Linked DNA regions of Homo sapiens: region 1 is linked to region 2. The links are contacts of gene promoters, found by promoter capture Hi-C in blood cells and fetal thymus (Javierre and others, 2016). All regions are on one chromosome and are shown on one strand. Each heading gives the region's core, a stretch centred on a gene start or on the middle of the fragment in contact. The rest is flanking DNA. Distances are from core to core; before and after follow the strand shown.

What was found. The method cuts DNA at HindIII sites, captures the fragments that hold promoters and counts their contacts. A CHiCAGO score of 5 or more calls a contact.
Region 1: a contact is called between a fragment that was not itself captured here and the fragment with the promoter of CWF19L1 in region 2, in 1 of 17 cell types (fetal thymus). The highest score is 5.1, in fetal thymus.

What each region holds. Positions count from the first base shown.
Region 1 is chr10:100,873,126-100,880,106 of GRCh38, forward strand. No RefSeq gene overlaps it. Among named protein-coding and RNA genes, the nearest start is that of SLF2, 36 kb to the right of the region's middle. RefSeq lists an enhancer at 897-1,563. The HindIII fragment of the contact is 2,199 bases long and covers 3,535-5,733 here.
Region 2 is chr10:100,265,283-100,271,866 of GRCh38, forward strand. It overlaps CWF19L1 (CWF19 like cell cycle control factor 1), which reads right to left and starts at 2,356. Exons shown (of 14, transcript NM_018294.6): 1 at 2,289-2,356. The coding sequence starts at 2,311. RefSeq lists an enhancer at 87-336. The HindIII fragment of the contact is 22,053 bases long and covers 1-6,584 here.

The DNA.
Region 1 (6,981 bases), core at 3,384-5,883, 610 kb after region 2:
CACTCCCCAGGCTGTTCCACACTCACAGCAGCAGGACCCACACACCCCGTCAAGGAGGCTGGGCCTGTCTCCTGAGGTTTACAAACTGCCCGCCCACTCTGGGAGCAAAAGGTGCTAAGTCTGGGAGAGGAACAACTGTTGGGGGCAAGGAAGGGTGAGAGATGGAGAACAGATCTAGGGAAGCAGGAAATGAGGGCTTCAGGGATGGCAGCCAGGCAGGGATCAGAGATGGAGGAATCAGAGATAAGACCAGGACTTCGGAGTTAGATGGATGAGGCAGAGATGGTGGAAACTGCCCAAATATGCAAGCGAGGCTTTCAGTCCAGCTCCCAAATGACTCCTGACCCCAGTCCCCACCACCAAGTACAGCAGTCCCAAAGAATGCCTCTTACGCCTCACTGCCCTGTTGGGAAAAGCCAGTGGCAATGCCAGTGACCAAGAGCCTATGCAGCAGGGCTGGCCCTGAGCTACCCAGATGGGTCTTGGGCCACCCAGGTCTCAGGCCAAAGCCTGGTAAGCCTCAGCCTCAGAGCTGGGCATGGGCCATGGGGGAGGGGGTTGTGGGGCCCCCTCCTTGCCCTGAACCACAGTCCACATGCTCCGAGCTGAGCAGGGCCCCTTCCTTTCTGCCCCCTGCCCCTGGCCCTAGATGAATAAAACTCAGGGGGCGGGGGGAGCTATTCATGGAACCAGAGAATGTGTGAGCTGCCCAGCAGCCCCCTCTCATTAGGGGACCCCCGTCAGGTGGCGCTCATTAACTTCAAGTTGTCTCTTGTTTTAAAACTCGGGTGAGGGGGGCAGGGTGGAGGGGCACATTGTCTGGCTGCTGCCCCAGAGAGATTAGGCGCCCAGGGGGAGGGGGCAGGCAAAGGCCCTTTAATTAGTTACTTTCAAAGGTTCCCTGTCCCCTTTCTCTCGGGTCCCCTTCCTAACCCCCGGCTGGGCCCAGCTTCGAGGGGGGCGGTCTTTTCTGCTTGGCAGAGCCGCCTGGTCACTCGGCTTAAATCCGCAGTCTTTGTTTCTGCCTGGACAATGGGCCCAGCACATCAGCCATGGAGGCCACGGAGGAAACAGGGCCTTCTCCTGTGCGGCCAGGAGCCGGCTGAGTGGGGTGCATCCTGGCACCAGCCTGCAACCTGGGGCCCCCAACAGGGGGCTGGTACCATGAATGCTTCCTAGGCTGAAAGGAAGAGGATAGGAACACACACACACACACACACACACACACACACCTCAAGACCTAGCTATTACAGAGGAAAAAGGAGAAACAAACCTCATGTCAGGGTCTCCTTCACATAGGAAGTTTCTAGGTCTTAGGGCCTGGCTCAAGGATGGGGGTGCTCTTCCTTTCTATACAGCAGAAAAAATGGTTTATGAGTCAGGCAGATCTGGGTCCCAATCTTAGCTCTACTACTCATGAGCAAATAATTAATCTCTCAAACTTCAATTTCCCTCATCTATAAAATGGAGAAAATAATGACTGCCTCTTGGGTTGTGAGGATTAAATAATCTAACTGGGTAAAAGGGTCTGGCACAGTGCTTGGCACACAGTAAGGGCTCAGTACCTGTTAGTTTCCTCCTTATATGGTTCCTATGGCCAGAGCCTTACCCTACACCCTCTACTACTAAGGAGCAGGTGCGTGGGACCCTTTCAGCTTCAGGGTGCCGGTGGCCGACACGGACTAAGCTCCTGCTGGGACACACATGCAGGAAAAGACTCAGAAAGCGCTGAGTGTGCAGACATGAATGAGGAGGAAGGAGAATCCCAGATTGGGAGTGATGGGGTTGGGGGTGGGTACCAAACAGAAAAGGGTGAGTGGGAACATGAGGAGGTAGAGGAGAGTGAGCCAGCTCTGGAGATCCTGGGGGGGTGGTCTCTGGGGGAGGGATTGAGAGGCTGTGTTGCAGGAAGAGTTGGTGATTTGCTTGGGTCAGCAGATTAATGGCACTAACGAAGTTTCCGAGAGCATGGTGAATTGGGGGGTCGGGGGCGTCCATGTGGAAAGGCACATGACTGGGGATTGATCAGGCTGAAGATGAAACAGAGAAAGCTTCCCGGGCAGCGGAGGTAGGAAACGCCAAAACCAATTACTCCCCGGCCCCTCTGGCCTCCAGATCTCTCCCCTAGAGAGGAGGGAAGGGGCTGTGACCTCTCTCTGTGGGTGAGGTCACACACATAGGCCACTCACGTGGGTAGGTGACGCCGCAGGTGCACAGGGGAAGGTCCACACATGGGAACGCATGTGCACAAGGGAAGGTCCACGCGTGGGAATGTGGAGACCTGGGGTGTGATGACGTTGCAAGTTCTGGTCTGTATGCCCTTGTGGGTCATTTGACTCCCCACAGGTGTCCCCACATTCCACCTAAGTGTCCCTATCCAGTCACCACACTTGTCACCAGGAGGAGCAAGGAACCCATGGTGATGGTGGAAGTGGAAGTGGAGGGCGTGCTGAGAATCTTCTTCATTCAGTTTTGGCCTTGAGTCTCATCTCCACAAATTAGCTAGTTTGAGCCTTAGTTTCTGGTCAGAGCAACCCTGGATTACCATTTAGGTGGCTAATTCCTTTTGCAGATAACTGACAATGTATCAGCCTCTGGTTAACGGGAGTGCACCCCACTTCATGAAAACCCATCCCTTTGGAAATAACCAATCACACACTGGTTGTTTTTAACAGCCCCTGATGTTTGTTGAATGAAAAAGTGTGGCAGATTGGGCAGCCCTCTCCAGGCTGAAGAATTCACAAAGGATATCAAAGTACCAGATCAAAGGGCAAGCAAACATCCCTTACAGGACCTACAGAAGCCCTTGGTTAAAAATCAACAAGAGGTGATTGGATGTAAGATAAGGGCCCTTCAAACTCACAACACGAACCCACTAGACGTCTACACTTGGGGTCCTTAAGGGAGCTGGGGGTGGGGAATGTGGACAGCAGGGGGCCCAGTGAGGCCTGAATTTAGCTCTTCCATGTGGAGGGCCAGCTCCCTTCTTGGCAGTGTGTATGCTGTGCGGTGTTTGCACCTTCAGGTTCAGGACAGAATTTGTGTTTCATGCCAGATGTTGAATGGTGTTATTATAGTTATTAGCAATTATGTTTTATCATAAAACCACTTTTCCTTTAAGTATGTGGGTAAAAAAATTCAGCTCTTCTTGGAGTTCTATCCAGTCTATTCCTCTTGGAGATGACTTCAAGTTTTATAATACAAGTCCATAGGCAAATGGGATTCAAGCCCTGGACATTCGCAGGAGTCCCTCTTGGAAACTTAACCATTTCAAGCAGAGAGAAGCCGCTACACTGCTGGGGTCCAGACGGCTGTCCTATGCAGGGAGGTTGCGCTCCAAAGGTACTGCACAGTGTCAGTGCTCCCTCCCTATACCCCTCACCTGTCCCCTCCCCCAACCTTCAACCTCACCAATGCAGTCACTGGGGATCCTGACCCAAGGATGCCTCCCCCTTCTCCATGCCCCCACCCCCATCCCACCCGTGCCCCCACCACAATGTCTACGAGGGAGACCGGCTCCTCTTGGGGCCTTCAAGCTTTTGTTAGGGTTATGTGAGCCACTAGTGACAAGGGCCCTGAAACCCAACTCGACCAAACTCATAAAAGGGGTCACTGTCTCTTTAATTAAAGTTCCCTGTTTGGAGGTTAAAGACAAACCCGTTTGATGGTGCAGGTGTGTAGAGTGGGGGTGGGGGAGAAGGGTGGAAGCGGCTAGAGGAAAACAGAATTCTATCCTTAGAGGGAAGTAGGGAGGGGCCTCACCAGGGGCAGGCTGGCCGAGCGATGGAAAGTCTGATGGGGGTCCCTGAGGGTCCCCAGTGTGGCAAGGGTCACAAGGGGGAGAAATCAGGCAAGAACCGGGAATCCCAGGGCCAGTGCAGCGAGCTCTGACTCCCCTGCGGGCATGCACATGCTCCTGGCCCATGCACACACTACCTGCCCTCCATGATGCCCGACTGACCACTCCCCTTGCCCACTCTTCCATCCCTCCCTTTTCCATCCCAAAAGTTCTCCAATAAAAGAGGACCCAGGGCCTAATACCATCTCCCCACAGAAGCAACTTCATCACAGTTTAACATAAAAAGATCAGCTGGTATCGACCCGTAATTTGGACCCATGCCACGCTATTGGCAGGAAGACAGAATAAGTTAGGGTGGCCATGTTTCAAAAATTCTCTGTGTGCACTCAATCACGGCCCAGGGAAGGCGGGTGGGTGCGTAATAACCCAGCCGCGCTCTCCATTTCCCCTGTAGATCAATGCTAATACCAGGAGGCCCCGGAAGATGGATGGAACCGACAGGAACCTTGAAATCCCGACACGGGGGCTGGTGCCTCAACCGATAAAGGATTTCTTCACTGCTACTGGGGCAGGGACACTGAAACCTTAGGGGCCATGGGAAGACAGTCTGATTGGGGACAAAGAGATGAGGAGAGGGAGCAGCCTCTTCTTTATGCTCACTGACACCCTTAGTCACTCACGTGGCCACTGACCGATGCTCGCTCCAGAGTCACTGACAGGCACGCCAACCGCGGCACACACCATCGCTCACACTGTACCCAGCCAAAAGCACCAACGCCTCCCCAAAGACACCTCGACTCCCTGCAGTCCCACAAATGGGTCCCTGTACACACGTGTACACATGCATGTACACAAACTCAAACCTCAACACCAGAATGAATCAAGGTATCTGACACAGGCACACTTACCTAGGGAGATACAGACACATCCAACCATTGACATTACACCCCGTCCCCGTGAAGCAAAAAGAGATGTGCATCTACATGCATATGTACTTCTCTGTCTCTCCCTCCTTCCTTTCCATGCCTTCCTTCTTCCCATTTCCTTGTGATTCTGTTTGGAAACTTGCAGGCTGATGGTCAGTCAGGGAACTTTCCAGGACCCATTGGATGTAAATCACTAACACAAAAGTACACCAGGCACACAGTCCTGGTCAACCAGACTCCCAGATGGGTGCACACACATGCTGCAAAGTGGGAGTCCTGGGTTCCAGGAACAGCTCAACATGGACTTGCTGTGTGGCCTTGGACAAGCCATTTCCTCTCTCTCTCTGGGCCTCTGTTTCCTCATCTATAAAACAACAGGTTGAACTGGGAGATTTCGAAGGGCCCTTTCAGGTCTGAATTTCTCTGTCTATTGTGGCAGACACAAATTCCTGCCAAGAGTTGCACACAAACGCAGGCAGCCCTGAGCACTCACACTGGCTGTGGTGGCCTGAAGCCACACCCACAAGGACACACAGGGGAACACAGGCACACAGGGCTCTTCCCAGCAAGGGTGCCTGCAATAGGGGCAGCAGCTCCCATCCTTCCCAGAGCTGGAAGTCAAGGAGCCTCAGAACCCACTCTTCTGGGAGCAAAGAACTGGGGACAAAGTAGAGAGATGGAGCATTGTTGTGAGTTTGAGTGGGGGACAGAGGGGGCCTTTCAGGCTGCTGTCTGATTTCCTTCCTTTTGAGCTCAGTCCCAGGACTGGAGCCATTTCCACAGCCTCGAGCTGACATCTTGTGGCCATCTCCAATGATTGCAGGCTTCACAAGGAGACACTCAGTCCCCTGCAGAGAAGCATAGCCCTGCCCAACCCAGAAAGTCGTTGGCAGAACACTGCTTCCCATCCCTGATGCCCTGTCCTATGCCCAGCTGCCAGGAAAGGCACAGGGGCTGACTTGTTCCTCCAGCGCGGACAGGTAGAATACAGGGGGCTACCTTGGGAAAAGCTTCAGGGTTACTGGGTGACAAAAGGGACTGGAAAAAAAATGGATGCTTAAGGGAGCTGCAGCCTGTGGTAGAAATGTAGTCCCACATTCCCACAGCCTCAGTCTAAGGTAAGGAAACATGGCCCAGGCCCAGGGGACTGCAGTCTAGGGAGGCGACACAGCCTTTCCCCAGGGATCTCCAGGTGAAGGAAGAGACTCAGCCCTGGCCTCCTGGAAGCCCAGTCTGATGGGAGGCATTTGGCCCTCCTCACAGACAGCCTTAGCTTTAGGGGAAGAGGGGAAGGGGAGAGACATGGCTCTGCCCTAATGGATCTTCTCATCTTAAGGAGAGAAAAACCTCAGCCCACAGCAGTGACCTCAGTCCTATCCGAGGAGTATGGAATTTGGGGGCTTGGAAGCCCCCAGCTATCTCAGCTTCCCATGCCAAGCCCTAATCTGGTAGTCTGAAAGGAACATGATTTCCATGCCTGCATCAGCAGCCTGGGGCTGGGCAGAGGGTTGGAGCAGAAGTTTTGGGGAAGTGGGCCATCCAGAGCCAGCCCCATTGATTCTGGAGAGACCTACTGGGCAGGGGTGGGGGGTGCATGGCAGGGGAGGACCACACTTTGCAGATCCTCCCAGAGGAAGCCATGATGGAAGTCCCTGGACAACCCTGGGCCAGTTCCTCCTACTAGCCAGAGCCTCCTGCCACCTCTGGAGCCAGGTCTTAGGACCCTGGAGATGACAAGTCACACACAAGGCAGAGGCCAGGGGTTCCCAACCTGGAACCAGGGAACCCTGGAGGTGCTGGGTTGATGAGTTTGTTATAAATTAGAGACTCGTTAAGAGAAGGTGAGAAGGGCTCAGTAACAGCTTTCGGGGTCCATCTTTTCGATTTCTTGTTCGGTTTGTTTATTGCTATTGTTCCTGTCTCATAAGCTTATTGCAAAACCAGTAAAAATGATCTATTCCGAAAGGGAAGTTGCTCTTTTGACTGGAAGCTGCCTCTTGGTCCTGGACCCCACCCCTCCCCCTCCTGGTGGCTGCAGCCTAGCCTGGTTGACCAGCTGTCTCCTGCCGCGGGGTCAGCAGAGGGTGCCAGATTCCTGCTCACTAGAAACTGTGTCCACCTGCCATGTAGCCACCCTGGGCTGGCCTCAGGCCTCCAACCTGGTCCCATCACCCCGATGACCGCTGCACCCCAGCCGTCCAGCTCACCTCTGATAGACACACCAGGGCTGTTATGGGGGAACAGGAGGCCAGGATA
Region 2 (6,584 bases), core at 1,106-3,605:
TAAAGTAAAAGTTACAGTAAACTAAGGTTTACTGTTGAAAATAATATTTTAATAAATTTAATATAGGTGAAGTGTACAGTATTCATAAAGTCTACAATACTGTAAAGTAATACATTCACTCACCTCTTACTAACTCACTCAGAGAAACTTTCAGTTCTGCAAACTCCATTCATGATAAGTGTCCTACACAGGTTGTGCCCTTTTTTTTTTTCCTGTATACAGTATTTTCTTTTTTTCTTTTTCTTTTTTTTTTTTTTTGAGACAGTCTCGCTCTGTCGCCCAGGCTGGAGTGCAGTGGTGCGATCTCGGCTCACTGCAACCTCTGCCTCCCAGGCTCAAGCCATTCTCCTGCCTCAACCTCTTGAGTAGCTGGGATTACAGGCGCCCGCTACCACACCCGGCTAATTTTTGTATGTTTAGTAGACACAGGGTTTCACCATGTTGGCCAGGCTGGTCTTGAACTTCTGACCTCAGGTGATCCACCCACCTCGGCCTCCCAAAGTGTTGGGATTACAGGCATAAGCCACCACACCCGGCCAGGTGTTTTCACTGTACCCTTTCTATATTTAAATACAAAAATGCTTACCATTGTGTTACAATTGCCTACAGTATTCAGTACAGTAACTTGACGTACAGCTATACCATTTAGCCTAGGTGTACAGGAAGCCATACCATCTAGGTCTCTGGAAGTACACTCAAAGATGTTCGCACAATGACGAAATCGCCTACCAACTCATTTCTCAGAACATAACCCTGCTGTTAAGCAATGGATTACTCTTATTTCCCAAGGCTCAATCCTAACATTCTCGGGAAGCCTTCTTGACTCCTATCATTAAGCCAAATACCCCTCTTATGCACTCTCCCAGATTCACGAATATTTTCTTCCCAAAAGTTACCACTATTGCAATTTTTTTTTTTTTTTTTTTGAGACAGGGTTTCAATCTGTCACCCAGCCTGGAGATCAGCAGCACGATCACAGCTCACTGCAGCATCGACCTCCCCAGGCTCAGGTGGTCCACCTGCTTCAGCCTCCCAATTAGCTGGGACCACCACGCCCGGCTAATTTTTTTTTTTTTCTGTATTTTTTGTAGAAACGGGGCCTTGCTATATTGCCCAGGCTGGTCTTGAATTCCTGGACTCAAGTGATTCTCTTGCCTTGGCCTCCGGAGTCGCTGGGATTATAGGCGTGAGCCACTGCGCCTGGCCCTATCACTATGGTAACTTTACATTTATCTGAATTCCTTTTTTTTTAGACGGAGTCTCACTCTGTTACCTAGGCTGGAGTGCAGAGGTGCAGTGTCGGCTCACTGTGCAACCTCCGCCTCCGGGTTCAAGCGATTCTCCTGCCTCAGCCTCCCAAGTAGCTGGGATTACAGGCACGCGCCACCACGCCTGGCTAATTTTTTTTTTTTGTATTAGTAGAGACGGGGTGTCACCACGTTGGCCAGGCTGGTCTCGAACTCCTGACCGCAAGTGATCCGCCCGCCTCAGCCTCCCAAAGTGCTAGGATTACAGGCGTGAGCCACCGCGCCCGGCCATTATTTGTATTGTTTTTTGTTTGTTTTGTTTTGTTTTGTTTTGTTTTGAGAGTCTCGTTCTGTCGCCCAGGCTGGAGTGCAGTGGCGCGATCTCGGCTCACAGCAACCTCCGCCTCCCGGGTTCAAGCGATTCTCCTGCCTCAGCCACCGCGCCCGGCCCATTATCTGGATTCTTTAGTACCTGTTCCTCTAGACTCTACGCTCCATTAAAGCAGGAACTCCATCTGTTGCAACACCTAGCACAGCGTCCGGCACACTGCAGTTCTTCAATAAATACTTGCTGCATGAAGCCCTCTCTTCACCACCACCCCCACCCCTCCTCCTCGCAAAAAAAAAAAAAAAAAAAAAATGCCCCAGGGAAGGGTCCCTATCTACTCTGTCCACCACTGCCCAGGGCCCATCAGTGGGCCCAATGGCTATTTGGCGAGTAAATAAATGGGGTCAGGAGAAACGAAGGGGAAAGGATGTGTCAGAGGCCAGGACTGCCCCCTAAGATGGAGGAGGCCTAACTCTGGGAGCTTCCGCCTCTCCGAACGAGCGTCGCCAAGAGAAACCCCCTCAGAAGCGAAAAGGGCCAGGAAAAGAGGTCAGCCCCGGCCAGGCAAAGACATCACCTAAGCTCCCCAGCAGCCCCGTGTCTCTCCGCCTTTTCCTTCTCCCTTCCCGTCATGGGAAAGACTCCCGCCCGTGTCGTCACCTACACACACGAAAGAGACACAGGGAGAGAGGCTTCCATTCACGGTCACTCACAGGCGCAGCGGTTTCTGTGCCATCTGTCCGAATAGTATGGGTTGCGACTGCCACCTAAAATTGGGAATGCGAATCCGCGCTCCCCGGAAAAATGCGACCGCGCAACAATCAGACGTCAGCGCCCTCCAGCCAATAACGGTTCACTTACTTACGGAGACCGCCGAGGGACAGAAGCCTCTCTCAGGTGTTTGCGCCTCAAGGAAGAATCAAGAGGGAAAGGGAGGAACGAAGGGAGAAAGAGAAAGTGACCGAAAGGATTCCAACTATGATTTTTTAAATTAAATTTCAGAGCACTTGAAGCGAATGAATGGCTAGGAAGTACAGAGCACAATGTCGGGTTCTAACCTAACCTAACCTAACCTAACCTAACCTAACCATATCGGTCTAGTGGGCAAGACAGACCCCCTCTATCCACGTTTTTTGTAAGTTTTTAACCTATCAAAAAGTTAAGAGGCCGGGCGTGGACGCTCACGCCTATAATCCCAGCACTTTGGAAGGCTGAGGCGGGCGGATCACTTGAGGTCGGGCGTTCAAGACCAGCCTGGGCAACATGGTGAAACCCCGTCTCTTCTAAAAATACAAAAATTAGCCGGGCATGGTGGAGAATTGCTTCAACCAGGGAGGCGGGGGTTGCAGTGAGTCAAGATCGCGCCATTGCACTCCAGCCTGGACAACAAGAGCGAAACTCCGTCTCAAATTAAAAAAAAAAAAGTTAAAAGAATAATGGCTATTACCTTGATTCAGTAAGTCTCAGCATGTTGGCAAATTTGCTTGTGTTCTCTTTCTCTCAAAGTGCCCAAGCCCTTCCATTCTCACTCAATCATTTGAAAGTAAAGTACAGGCCGGGCGCAGTGGCTCACGCCTGTAATCCCAGCACTTTGGGAGATCCAGACCATCCTGGCTAACACGGTGAAACCCCCTCTCTACTAAAAATACAAAAAATTAGCCGGGCGTGGTGGCACGCACCTGCAGTCCCAGTTACTCGGGAGGCTGAGGCAGGGGAATCGCTTGAACCCAGGAGGAGGAAGTTGCAGTGAGCCGAGATCGCGCCACTTCACTCCAGCCTGGGCGACAGAGCGAGACTCCGTGTCAAAAAATAAAATAAAATAAAGTGCGGACAACAGGAATACATCTCCATTTATCTCCTAAGATTAGGATATCCTCCTACATAACCGTAATACTATTAACACAGCTAAGAAAATTAACATTAATTATTCAATAATATTACCTAATATACATCCATATTTAAAGTTCTCCATATTTCCCTACAAACTGATTTTATATTTGGGGCTTGTTTTGATTCAGATGCAATCAAGTTTCACACTTGCATTTGGTTCTGTCTCTATTTTAATCTACAAAAGCCCTCCTACCTATTTGGTTTTAGTTTTTGTAATATTGACTTTTTTGAAGGGTTCAGGCCAAGTGGTAGGAAACAAGTGTGTAAGGAAATGGAAACAAGAGAGAGTTCCTGACGACTGCGGGGAAAGGAAGACTCATCAAGGGCATCTAAATAATTCAAAATTAATAAAACATAAGATTAAAGAAGAACTACAGGCCAGGCACAGTGGCTCATGCCTGTAATCCCAGCACTTTGGGAGGCTGAGGCGGGAGGTTCACTTGAGAACAGGAGTTCAAGGCCAACCTGGGCAACATAGCCAGACCTCGTCTCTACTACAAATTTAAAAAGAAAAAAAAAAAAGTTAGCTGGGCATGGTGGCCGTATGCCTGTACTCCCAGGTACTCCAGAGGCTGAGGTGGGGAGATCACTTGAGCCCAGGAGATGGAGGCTTCAGCGAGCTATTACCTTGCCACTGCACTCCAGCCTGGGTGACACAGCAAGCCCTGTCTCAATAACCAAACAAAACTACAAAGTTCTGGCTTTTCCCACAGCCTACAAGCCTTCTTTTTTGTTTGTTTCTTGCCTCATAACTGGTGGCTCTGCTTTGCTGGCACATAAGCATGCATTTTTTCCTACTCTTTGGATAATACAGCACTGCCCAGGAGTAGCACTCAAGACTGAATCTTGAAGAAGAGTAGAAGTTTGCCAAACATGAGCAGGTAATAATTCCCAGAAGAGGATACAAAAGTAAGACATAAAAACTCATCGTATTGAAAAATCAAAAGACTCCACGAAAAAGACTGTTAGAAATAATAAACGAATTCAGTAAAAGTTTCAGGATACCAAATCAACATACAAAAATCAGTAGCATTTATATGCACCAACAGTAAACAATCTGAAAAAGAAATCAAAAAAGCAATCTCATTTACAACAGCTACAAAGAATATAAACTACGTAGGAATCAATTTAACTAAAGAAATGAAAGATCTATACAAGGAAAACTATACAATACTGATGAAAGAGGACACACACACAAAAAGGAAAGATATTCCACGCTTATGGATTAGAAGAATTAGGCGGGCAGATCACGAGGTCAGGAGATCGAGACCTTCCTGGCTAACACGGTGAAACCCCGTCTCTCCTAAAAATACAAAAAAATTAGCCAGGCGTGGTAGCGGGCGCCTGTAGTCCCAGGTACTCGGAAGGCTGAGGCAGCAGAATGGCATGAACCCGCGAGGCAGAGCTTGCAGTGAGCGGAGATCCAGCCACTGCACTCCAGCCTCTAGCCTGGGCAACAGAGCGAGACTCCGTCTCAAAAAAAAAAAAAAGAAAGAAAGAAAAAAGACAACACTACCTAAAGCAATTTACAGATTCAGTCCAATCCCCATCAAAATACAAATGGCATTCTCTAGATAGAGCAAGGATCCCCAACCCCCGGGCTATGGACCAGTACCCATCAGAAACCAGGACGCACAGCAGGAGGCGAGCGGTGGGCAAGTGAGAATAACCGCCTGAGCTCACTTCCTATCAGATTAGTGGTGGCATCAGATTCTTACAGAGGCTGGAACCCTATTGTGAACTGCACATGCGAGGGTTCTACGGCGCTGCGTACCTTACAAGAATCTGATGCCTGATGATCTGAGGTGGAACAGTTTCATCCCCAAACCATCCCCCCATCCCTACTTTCAGCTCTCTTTTTCTAATGTAAATGTCATGTACGAGCGTTTGTTTTTTTTGTTTTGTTTTGTTTTGTTTTTGTTTTTGTTTGAGACTGAGTCTCGCTCTGTCGCCCAGGCTGCAGTGCAGTGGCGCGATCTACGCTCACTGCAAGCTCCGCCTCCCGGGTTCACGCCATTCTCCTGCCTCAGCCTCCAGAGTAGCTGGGACTACAGGCACCCGCCACCATGCCTGGCTAATTTTGTTTTTGTATTTTTAGTAGAGACGAGTTTTCACCGTGTTAGCCAGGATGGTCTCGATTTCCTTGACCTCGTGATCCGCCCGCCTCGGCATCCCAAAGTGCTGGGATTACAGACGTGAGCCACCGCGCCCGGCCACAATAGTTTTATTTGACGTCAGGACTGTTTTGTAGACCGAGGTGTGATAGATGTGGCACGCACCAGCCACGGTTTCCACCGTCCCCAGAGCGTGGAGAGGCAGCGCCACTGCTCTCAAGGTTAATGACAACTCAATAAAGCACTGCTTTTATTTTTTGCAGTCTTCAATTTGAGAAAGGCCAGAAATAATGTTTTCAATAAATATGGTTCATACCATTAAAAAAAAAAATCCCCCCGCGTCCACGGAAAAATTGTCTTCCATAAAAGCGGTCCCTGGTGCCAAAAAGATTAGGGACTGCTGCTCTACAGAAATAGAAATAGAAAAAACAATCCTAAAATCTATATGGAACCACAAAAGACCCCAAAGAGCCAAAGCAATCCTGAGCAAAAAGCACAAAGCTGAAGGCATCATACTGCCCAACCTCAAAATCTACTACAAAGCTATGGTAACCCAATCAGTATGGTACTGACATAAAAATAGACACATAGACCAATGGAACATATATAAATCCATGCATTTACAGCCAACTCATTTTATGTCAATACCAAAAGTACAAAGGTGCCAAGAACATTCAATGAGGAAAGGACAGTCTCTTCAATAAATGATTCTTGGAGAACTGGATAGCCCTATACTGAAGAATGAAACTCAACTCTATCTCTCACCATATACAAAAATCGCATCAAAATGGATAAAGACTTAAACCTAACACATGAAACTATGAAGCTACCAGAAGAAAATACTGGAGAAATGTTCCAAGATATTGATCTGGGCAAAAATTTTTTGTATAAGACTTCAAAAGCACAGGCAACAAAAGCAAAAATAGACTAATAGGATTATATCAAACTAAAAAGCTCTGCACAGCAAAGGAAACAATCAACAAAGTGAAGAGGCAACCCACAGAA